Linked DNA regions of Homo sapiens: all the other regions are linked to region 2. The links are contacts of gene promoters, found by promoter capture Hi-C in blood cells and fetal thymus (Javierre and others, 2016). All regions are on one chromosome and are shown on one strand. The core of a region is centred on a gene start or on the middle of the fragment in contact, and the rest is flanking DNA. Distances in the headings are between cores, read along the strand shown.

The links. Contacts are between HindIII fragments. The CHiCAGO score rates a contact against its expected background, and 5 or more counts as called.
Region 1: a fragment that was not itself captured here is called in contact with the fragment with the promoter of GAS1 in region 2 in 1 of 17 cell types (endothelial precursors); the score reaches 6.3 in endothelial precursors.
Region 3: a contact is called between a fragment that was not itself captured here and the fragment with the promoter of GAS1 in region 2, in 1 of 17 cell types (total CD8 T cells). The highest score is 5.0, in total CD8 T cells.

Annotation. Positions count from the first base shown.
Region 1 is chr9:86,410,951-86,414,233 of GRCh38, forward strand. It overlaps LOC102724080 (a long non-coding RNA gene), which reads left to right and starts at 2,891. Exons shown (of 2, transcript XR_007061636.1): 1 at 2,891-3,283. The HindIII fragment of the contact is 679 bases long and covers 1,666-2,344 here.
Region 2 is chr9:86,945,400-86,948,759 of GRCh38, forward strand. GAS1 (growth arrest specific 1) reads right to left here and starts at 2,107. Exons shown (of 1, transcript NM_002048.3): 1 at 1-2,107. The coding sequence starts at 1,380. The coding sequence ends at 343. GAS1RR (GAS1 adjacent regulatory RNA) reads left to right here and starts at 3,299. Exons shown (of 7, transcript NR_049794.1): 1 at 3,299-3,360. RefSeq lists silencers at 1,098-1,167, 1,238-1,317. The HindIII fragment of the contact is 4,442 bases long and covers 1-2,975 here.
Region 3 is chr9:86,349,582-86,352,824 of GRCh38, forward strand. TUT7 (terminal uridylyl transferase 7) reads right to left here. Exons shown (of 27, transcript NM_024617.4): 2 at 3,099-3,243. Among named protein-coding and RNA genes, the nearest start is that of TUT7, 3.2 kb to the right of the region's middle. The HindIII fragment of the contact is 2,336 bases long and covers 160-2,495 here.

The sequences.
Region 1 (3,283 bases), core at 755-3,254, 530 kb before region 2:
TCTCCATCCAAAGCAAACTCACCCATTCATACTGGAGAAAAACTCTTCTTGATTTTTATGTAGTGAACTGAGATTCCTCTAATGCCTCACAAAGATATTTTTCCAATTTCAGATGGGAACCTGTCTTCCTTAAACTTTTCCTTTTTATAGCCCCCTGTAAAGATTTTGATATCATCTCATGTAATCTTCTTATTCCCAATTTTTTAAATGAGTTCTTTAGAGTTCTTCATTATACTGTGAGTAGAAAATTCCAAGTTATCAGTTTATCTGTTTTAGCCAAGGATTGAAAAGACATTTAGTATAATTTACAAGGAGGAAAATGTAAGGAAATAGGAGATTTTAACTAGATATTAAATAGAAGGAAACAAAACAACCTTTACAACTGCTTTTCTTGCTTTAGAATATTATTTTTAAGATTTAGCCTGAAATTGAGAATCAAGAGCTTATCTGGTTTGCTTTATGGTTTCTAAAAATTCATTTGATTCTAACATTACATGGTTCCTATTGGTATTTCTGTTTTTGATGGACAGATAATGTGCTGTAATGTCTACTCATGTAATATCTAGTGTTGCATGATTCCTCTCCATCTCTCTGTTTTTGAGAAACAGAAGCAATGTTTATTTGAGTGGAAATATGATTTCAAATCATATTTCAAAGACTTCAAATAACTGATAGTGCTCATCTCCCCAGAGGGAATCATGAGTCAAAGGTCAGGGAGTAGCCTGTGAATGAAAATGTGCTGTGCCCACAAGAAAAGATGTCAGTCACAAAGCGAAACTAACACCGCAAATATAAGGGGGTCTTCAAAAAGTCCATGAAAAATATGTATTGTGAAAAAACTGTGCATGGATTTAAAATTCTTTTTTTACAGCAAATAAACTTGTACTAATTTATTATAATATATCTGAACAGGGTCTAGTTTGAGGCACTAAGGAGGATAATGCATCCGTTTGAAAAGAGTCCTTATAAGAGAAACATGGATTCTGCTAAAATTCAAGCAAGAACAGACATCACATTTGTGGTGAAGCTTGGGTGGAAGAATGGTAACATCACTGATGCTTTACAAAAAGTTTATGGAGAAAATTCTTCAAGTGATAATTTTACAAATGAATAACTTGTTTTAGGAAAGGACAGGGCCGTGTGAGGTGGCTCACGCTTATAATCCCAGCACTTTGAGAGGCCAAGGATGATTGCTTGAGGCCAAGAGTTTGAGACCAGCTTAGGCAACAAAGTGAGACCCTTTCTCTACAAAAAATAGAACATTTACCTGGGTGCGGTGGTGCATGCCTACAGTCTGAGCTACTTGGGAGGCTGAGGCAGGAGGATTGCTTAAGCCCAGGAGTTTGAGCCTGCAGAGAGTTACAATGGTGCTACTGCACTCCGACATGGGTGACAGAGTGAGACCCTGTCTCTTAAAAGGAAAAGGAAAAGAAAGGACAACATTGTTGAAGATGAAGCCTGCAGCAGCAGACTATCCACATCAATTTGCAAGGAAAAAATTTTCTTGTTCATACCCTAATCAACAATACAAACAATAGCCATCATCATAGACAAAGGAACATCATTATTAGGACTGAAAATTAACAGCACAAACAATAGCCAACATTCTCGACATTTCAACTGGTTCAGTTTACACAATTCTGACTAAAAAATTAAAGTTGAACAAGCTTCCCGCTCAATGGGTACCAAAACAGTTGTGCCTGGGTCAGCTGTGGACAAAAGCCGAGCTTTCCGTGGAAATTTTAAATACATAGGATCAAGATCCTGAAGCATTTCTTCAGACTAGTAACGGGAGATGAAACATGGCTTTACCAGTATGGTCCTGAAGACAAGGCACAATCAAAGCAATGGCTACCAAGAGGTGAACGTGGTGCAGTCAAAGCAAAAGACGATGGGTCAAGAGCTGAGGTTATGGCAACAGTTTTTTGGGATGCTCAAGGCATTTTGCTTGTTGATGTTCTGGACAATAACATCTGACTATTATGAGAGCATTTTGAGAAAGCTAGCAAAAGTTTTAGCAGAAAAACTCCTGGAAGAGCTTCACCAGAGAGTCTTTCTCTACCATGACAATGCTGCTGCTCATTCCTCTCAGCAAACAAGGTCAATCTTGCAAGAGTTTTGATGAGACATCATTAGGTGCCTATCCTCCAGTCCTGATTTGGCTCCATCTGACTTCTTTCTGTTTTCTATTCTTAAAAAAATCTTTAAAGATCACCCATTTTTCCTCAGTTAATAACATAGAAAAGACAACATGAACATGGTTAAATTCCCAGGACCCTCAGTTCTTTAGGGATGGACAAAATGGTTGGTATCATCACTTAGAAAAGTATCTTGAACTTGATGAAGCTTATGTTGGGAAATAAAGTTTATATTATTTATTTATTTATTTATTTATTTATTTATTTATTTATTTAAGACAGAGTCTGGCTCTGTCGGCCAGGCTGGAATGCAGTGGCACGATCTTGGCTCACTGCAATCTCCACCTCCTGGGCACAAATGATTCTTGTGCCTCAGCCTCCCGAGAAGCTGGGATTACAGGCACACACCACCACACCTGGCTAATTTTTGTATTTTTAGTAGAGATGGGGTTTCACCATGTTGGCCAGGCTGGTATTTTTATCTTTTAATTCTTTTTTTTTTTTTTTTTTGAGACGGAGTCTTGCTCTGTCGTTTAGGCTGGACTGCAGTGGCATGATCTTGGCTCACTGCAACATCTGCCTCCCAGGTTCAAGTGATTCTCCTACATCAGCATCCTGAGTAGCTGGGATTACAGGTGTGCACCATCATGCCTGGCTAATTTTTGTATTTTTAGTAGAGACCGGGTCTCACCTTGTTGGCCAGGCTGGTCTTGAACTCCTGACCTTAGGTAATCCTCCTGCCTTGGCCTCCCAAAGTGCTAGGATTACAGGCGTGAGTCACCGTGCCTGGCCCCCATGACCTTTTCGAAGTCCCCTAGTATGCCTTTACACCCATTTCTAGAATGATTCCCAACATTCCTTCATTTATTCCTTTATTTATTGAATAAATAATTATTAAATGCTTGTCATGTATGTTCCAGGCTTTGCTCTAGTAATTTCGGATATATCAATGAACAAAGCAGGAAAGAAAAAAAAAAAAGGCAAAATCTCTGCCTTCCGGGAGCTCACATTCCCACAGGAGTCACAGGAAACAGCCAATGACCAGTAAGCATCACAAAGAAGTCATGCCAAAGAACCAGACAAATAGCTGGAAGGAAGAGGGGAACTCCTTTGTGACGCCAAATGGGCCAAAGGGTCGCTGGGAA
Region 2 (3,360 bases), core at 857-3,356:
CCAGGACTACTGTTCTGTCCCCCACATGCTTGCTTCCTCCCGGACGTCCTGAACACTGCAGCTAGCTTTCTGGACGGCAGACGAGTTGGGAGTTTCTGGAGCTTGGAATTGGGGCGGGGGAGGAGGTCCAAGAAGTCAAGCTCCGGAGAGGAGCTTCAGGGGAAGTGCCCAGAGTCGTGGCCGGGGAACCGGCTACACCAAGTTGACTTGGAAAAAGTTTTGGGAAGTATCCCCAACCATCCCTTCTATCTGTCCCAAGCCACAGGTGCCCGGCGCGGGGTCGAGGCGAGCACGGGAGTGGGACGCGGGCTCTCCCGCAGCCAACGGCGGGGGGCGCGAGGGCTAAAAGAGCGGCCCAAGCAGCAGCAGCAAGATGGAGGCGAGTGGGGTCCAGGCGCCCCGGGGCGCCAAGCGGCCGCCGCCGCCGCTGCTCCTGCGCCCAGGCCCATAGGGCAGGTCCCCGCGGCCGCCCGATGCAGCAGCGCCGCTGCCCGGGCGCGGTGGGTGCGGGACGCCGTCGTCGTCGTCCAGCGGCTGCTCACCACCCGCGCCCCCGGTGCGCTGCTCGTCATCGTAGTCCTCATCGTAGTAGTCGTCCAGGCCCCCGTCCGAGCCGCTGCTGCCGGGGCCGTTGCCCAGCTCGGCGCCGAAGCACAGGCGGGCCATGTTCTCCTTGACCGACTCGCAGATGGGCCGCTCGAGGCCGTCGCACACGCAGTCGTTGAGCAGCGCCGCCTTGGGCATAGCCAGCATGTCCTCAATGACGGTGCGGCATTCGTCCGTGCAGCGCAGCCCGTTGAAGACTTTGCCGCAGTAGGTCAGGTAGCGGCTCAGCGCCAGGTTGCAGCGGCTGTCGCGGTCGCAGCGCCGCCGGGCCTCGGTGCAGCCCATGACCCCGCCCGCGCCGGGGCCGCCCGCGCCGCCGCCGCTCGTCCGGGGCAGGCACGGCTCAATGGCGCGCTTGGTGGACTTGCAGTTCTCGTCCTGCGCGCAGTCACAGTCCTCCAGGGCGGGCCCGCGGCGCGTGTGGTTGAGCTGAATGAGGGCCGAGATGCAGTGACTCGGGCAGCGCCAGCGCGACGAGAAAGAGGCGGCCGAGGCCGGGAAAGCGGCGGCGGCGGCCCCGGGCGCGTCGCCCCCGCCGTGCTGCGCCAGCACCGGCGCGCACGCCTCGGCGTACTGGTTGTAGGCGTAGCTGCACTCCGGCTCCCCCTGGCACTGCAGCAGCGCCTGCCAGCAGATGAGGCGGCGGCCGTGCGCCAGCCCCGATCCCCGCGGCGCCGAGCCCAGCAGCTGCAGCAGCGCCATCAGGCACAGCCAGGCGCCCGGCACTGTCCCCCCGCGGGCCTCGCCGCCGCCGCCCAGCAGCGCGGCCACCATCGCGGGCAGCGGCGGCCGCCGGGAGAGGAGGGGAAAGGAGACGAGGCGCGGGGAGCGGCGGACGCGGAGCCGGTGGAAAAGTTTGTCCAAGTCCTGCCCACTTCTTGCATGAGTGTCTTCATAAATCCATGCGCGCCGCTGGCTGATGCCCCGCTGGTGGCAGAAGGTCCCCTTTCGCTCTGGCTGCGGTGGCTTCCTGGAAATGAACAGCTGTCGAGATCTGGTCCCGCTCTCCCACCCGAGAGCCCTCCGCTCGGCCCCCGGTGGTGGCGGGAGAGGCTCACTGTCGCCCCGGGGGGGTGCGGGCCGCGGGGCCGTGGCGGGGCTGCAGGACCGCGCGGCGCGGCGGGTGCATTTTGCTCCGCGCCTGCAGATCCGTTGTGCGGCCGGCTGTCCCCGTGCCGGCTGCTCGCGCTGCGGCCGCGGCGGCTCCTTCCTCCTGGGCTCAGTGCCTCGCCGCCGCCACCGCCGCCGCGGTCTCTCGCATCGCGCCGCTTCCTGGCCCGGCGTCCGCGCGCTGCCCGCCTTCCCGCGGCCCGGCCGCCCCGCGTCCCCTCCCCCTCCGCCCGCGGCAACCCCGGCCTCCGCAGAGCTCCGGGGAGCTCTTTCCGGGAAGCGCGGGGAGAACAAGAAAGTCGGCGCTGCCGGAGAGCGGCTCCCTGGCTTCACTCGGCGGCAGCTTCTCGGGTGACCAAGAGCCCGGGGAGCGGATCCGCTGAGCCCGGCTGCAGACTCGTTAGCAGCGAGGCTTTAAATACAAAAGTGGGCCGGGAGCCCCCGCGTGGTGCCGCGGTGCCCCCTCATTATGCATGCATGGAAAAGCAAACAAACAAAAACATTAGCAACGCTCCTCCGGCTCGCCGAGCCCCGGCCCCGCGCGCTCCGAGCCTGCCCGCTTTCTCCTTTCTCCACTCTCTTTCGCCCTTTGCTCGGCCCCCTTTCCCGGCTTTTCGAGATGCTATTGGTCCTGCCTGTTGTTGTTGAAAGTTTTTTTTTTTTTTTTTACGAGCCGCTGGAGTGGGGTTGCGGAGTGGGGGAGGGCGGGAGGGTGGTGGGCAGCTCACATTCAGGCATTCAGGGCTTGAAAGGAACGGCTTAGGGAGCCTGACGGAGGCCCGGAGCTCCTCCTACTCTTAAGGAGGCTCGGATATGCAGCCCCAGCTCGCGCACAGAACCAGCGGGCAGGGCTTAGGGGCAGCTGTTTGCATCCGGCTCAGCCACGGGCCTTTTTTGTTTGTTTTTTTTTTCTTTTTTTTTTTTTTTGTAGTTTTATTAATTCTCGCTGGCCCCCATCTGTGCTTTCGACTGGATTCAGAACTCAGTTTATCTTCCAGGCTCCCTGTCTTTGGGTCTTGATCACCACAGAGGGGAAGGGGAGAATCCAGAGATAAAATGTGAGACTGAAACTGTTTTAAAGAAGCATACAAGAAAGAAGCACACACTTTATTAGGGAGATGTTGATGAGATGCTTACAACCCGCCCGCCACCCCCCAGCCCCAGCTAGGCCATCTGGCAGGTACCGCCCGTGCGCCAGGCATCGTTTTCAAATTGCAAGACCGAAATCCAATCAACCGAAATAATTTCTTAGGAAGATAAGCTTGCAACACGTGCAATAATGAAAAAATTTAACTAGCATTAAAAATATTCAGGAATGTCGAGCAATTACCACCTGGCCGCAGTCACAGGACAGAAGACGGAATAAATGGGCACGCACCAAAGGTTTATATTAAAGTGTAAGTTTCAGCCCCTCAGTATATTTAAGGGAGGCTGCTCTGCAGAGGAAACCTCTGCCTTCTCGGCGAGGGAGTTTCCGAGCTACCTTAACTGGGGCGCAACGCAGCCTTCCGCCACCAGAGGCAGCGGGCGTCTGCGGCCTGTCAAAAACTGGCGCTTTTTTCCTCCCCTTTCCGTGGAGAGACTATCAACTCCATCTGTCACAAAAATTAAGGCTAAATCTCCTCTCCAGAAGCAGAGGGAGCC
Region 3 (3,243 bases), core at 78-2,577, 600 kb before region 2:
AACTCCACCATAATTTCCATTATATCTTCTCACATTGTTGAATAATACCCTTCCTTATTAAGACACAATTTTGATAAAGAAATTTCGATCTCTTTAATGAGATCCTTTTTAGTTTATACTTTCAGTTGAATCTCTCTAAACTAAATAATGTTATACCGAAGCTTAATGCTTCCTATATGAAGATTTTCAAGGGATAGAAACTGAATAATTCTTTACTTAATAACTGTGAAAGCATATACCTGTATGTCATACAGCAAAAACATGCAAACTTTTGAATTACCTCCAATAAAAAAATAGCAAAATGCATTTCCTATTCAAATACACTTAAAAGCAACTTCTTTAGTTGCTTTTATAAGAATACACATAAAATAAGAAAACATATAAAAGTTTTTGTGGTCAGCCAACAGTTCCTTTTAATGTCTAGTTGCAAATTTTTGATCTATAAACTTTCTTTTTAAAATGCTTTTCAGCCGGGTGCAGTGGCTCACACCTGTAATCCCAACACTTTGGGACGTCAAGGCAGGCAGATCATGAGGTCAGGGTATCGAGACTACCCCTGGCCAACATGCTAAAACCCCAACTCTACTAAAAATACAAAAATTAGCTAGGTGTGGTGGCACGTGCCTGTAGTCCCAGCCACTCAGGAGGCTGAGGCAAGAGAATTGCTTGAACCTGGGAGATGGAGGTTGCAGTGAACCAAGATCGCACCACTGCACTCCAGCCTGGGCTACAGAGCGAGACTCCATCTCAAAAAAGAGAATAATAATAATAAAATGAAATGGTTTTCAAGATCAACTTCTACAAGACTATAGGTAACAAAATTAAATACCCACATCCCACCTGGACAGTAATACAGAAACACTTAAATATACACAATTTTTAATAAAGAAAAACACAAATCAAAAGCCCAGAAATTATCAAGAAATATTCGGCTCCGCCGTCAGGATTTCAGGTCCAGCGAGGCTGAGTTAATGGCCAGAGTAGCAGAGTCCCCAATTTTAGTTCTACTTCCTCATTTACCGCGCTGCATAAACAGGTCTGTGGAAATTTAACCTCTCTGAGCTGCAGCTGCCTGATTTGTAAAACTGTGATTCCATTTTTGATATATTACAACAGAGTACTGCATCAGATAATTCCTCAAGCTATTTCTAGCTTAAAGATTTAAGTTTTATGTCTCCCTACTACTTAACGCCTTTATAACACTTCATTCTGTTTCTGCTACTTGATATTAATATATACTCTTAATTTTCAAATTTAAAAATATCTGAGGGCCAGGCGCGGTAGTTCACGCCTGTAATCCCAGCACTTTGGGAAGCAGAGGCAGGTCGATCACTTGAGGTCAGGAGTTCAAGACCAGCCTGGCCAACAGGGAGAAACCCTATCTCTATTAAAAAACAGAAAAATTAGCTGGGCATGGTGGTGTGCACCTGTAGTCCCAGCTACTTGGGAGGCTGAGACATGAGAACCGCTTGATCCTGGGAGGCAGAGGCCACAGTGAGAGGAGGTCACATCACTGCACCTCCAGCCTGGGTGACACAGTGAGACTGTCTCAAAAAAAAAAAAAAAAAATCAGGCTGAATGTGGTGGCTCACGCCTGTAATCCCAGCACTTTGGGAGGCCAAGGTGGGTGGATCACTGGAGGTTAGGAGTTTGAGACCAGTCAGGCCAACATGGTGAAACCCTGTCTCTATTAAAAATACAAAAATTAGCCTGATGTGGTGGCATGTGCCTGTAGTCCCAGCTACTTTGGGGGATGAGACAGGAGAATCGCTTGAACCCAGGAGGCAGAGGTTGCAGTGAGCCAAGATCGCGCCACTGTACTCCAGCCTGGGTGACAGAGCGAGACTCCGTCTCAAAAAATAAAATAAAATATAAATAAACAGATCTGACAACTAGAAGTATCTGTGAAAAAAGAAAAAAAATCAAGTAGCACATTTCCCCCCATTTAATATTAATAAGTGCTTGAGACTTTCATTTTTATCCTAAGACCTTGTAAAGATAAAAGACGACCTTTTGGCTTTTAAGTATTCTATACGCATGGGACACAAATTCAAACACCTTATAGGTAACCAGTGTATGAACTGGCCACTGTGAGATAACATGAAGAGAAAAGGCATCGGGTGATCTAGAAAGTGTCCATATTCCCTGAATGCATTTAAACTAAAAAAATTTATTTAAAAGTGCTGGCCAGTTTGAAACACATTCTATACAACCACTAAAAAACGCTTTCAGCCACTAAACTTACAAGTCCATGTTTCCAACTGTGATATTGTTTCATTTTTTCCATCCAATTTGTGACTTTATTTCATTTCGGTATATATCTCCCATTAGATAAAAATAACCTTCCTGTTTGCAGAAATCGTTGCCACATGGATAAAATCTACTTTTTACTTTTAGAAAAACATATTATCTCCTTATTATCCCTTTGGGGCAATTAACCAAGCATGTGAGGGCACCGAGAAATTAGTTTTGGTCTTACTGAAACCAAACAGCAAAGCTTGAATCTATTTCTGACTTTCTAAACTTGTTTCTCAACCTGTTTGTCACGATCCCTTTTGAAAAACAAAGATCTCAGATTATCCATCTCGGGACACTGACACTACATCCAAAAGATATATCTCTTGTGGCAGGAGATATACGCAGTGTATACTGTGTTTTTACATCAACAAATAAGTTTTTTTTTTAAAAAAAGCTTTATATTCTGTCATTTATATTATGAACACATTAATTATTCAAATACAAAATTATAATCACAATTTTGAAAACACACAAACCACTGAGCAATTACGATATGGTCCCCTGGAGCATATAGCTACCCTCTTCTGTAAAAAACACGTTACAGAAAACATGTTTACTGACGTAAAGTGAGCCCTGGGGCAAAGTAAACTTTTAAAGGGATCAACATATGAAATGTGTTTTAGCTGCTCAAATATCATGATTACTATCCTTAAAATAATCACACTAAGTGACCATTTCTTAAAACAGAAACTGTGAAAAACTGAAACTAAATTGCTGAAAATAACAAAACTCATTTGGATGAAAAAGAATAAAACATTGCTGACTCTGGGGTTGTGATCTGACAAGTTGGAAAACATTACCAGGACTTCCTGCTTCCATTTCTGACGTGGTTTCTAGGCTTGTTAGGTCTTTATGAAACAGTCGTCTTACAGTTCTGCAGCCTCTTGTGTCTTGCCACCTATAACCATCTTCATTTTCTTGAAAGGAGTCTTTTCTTTGTCGGTT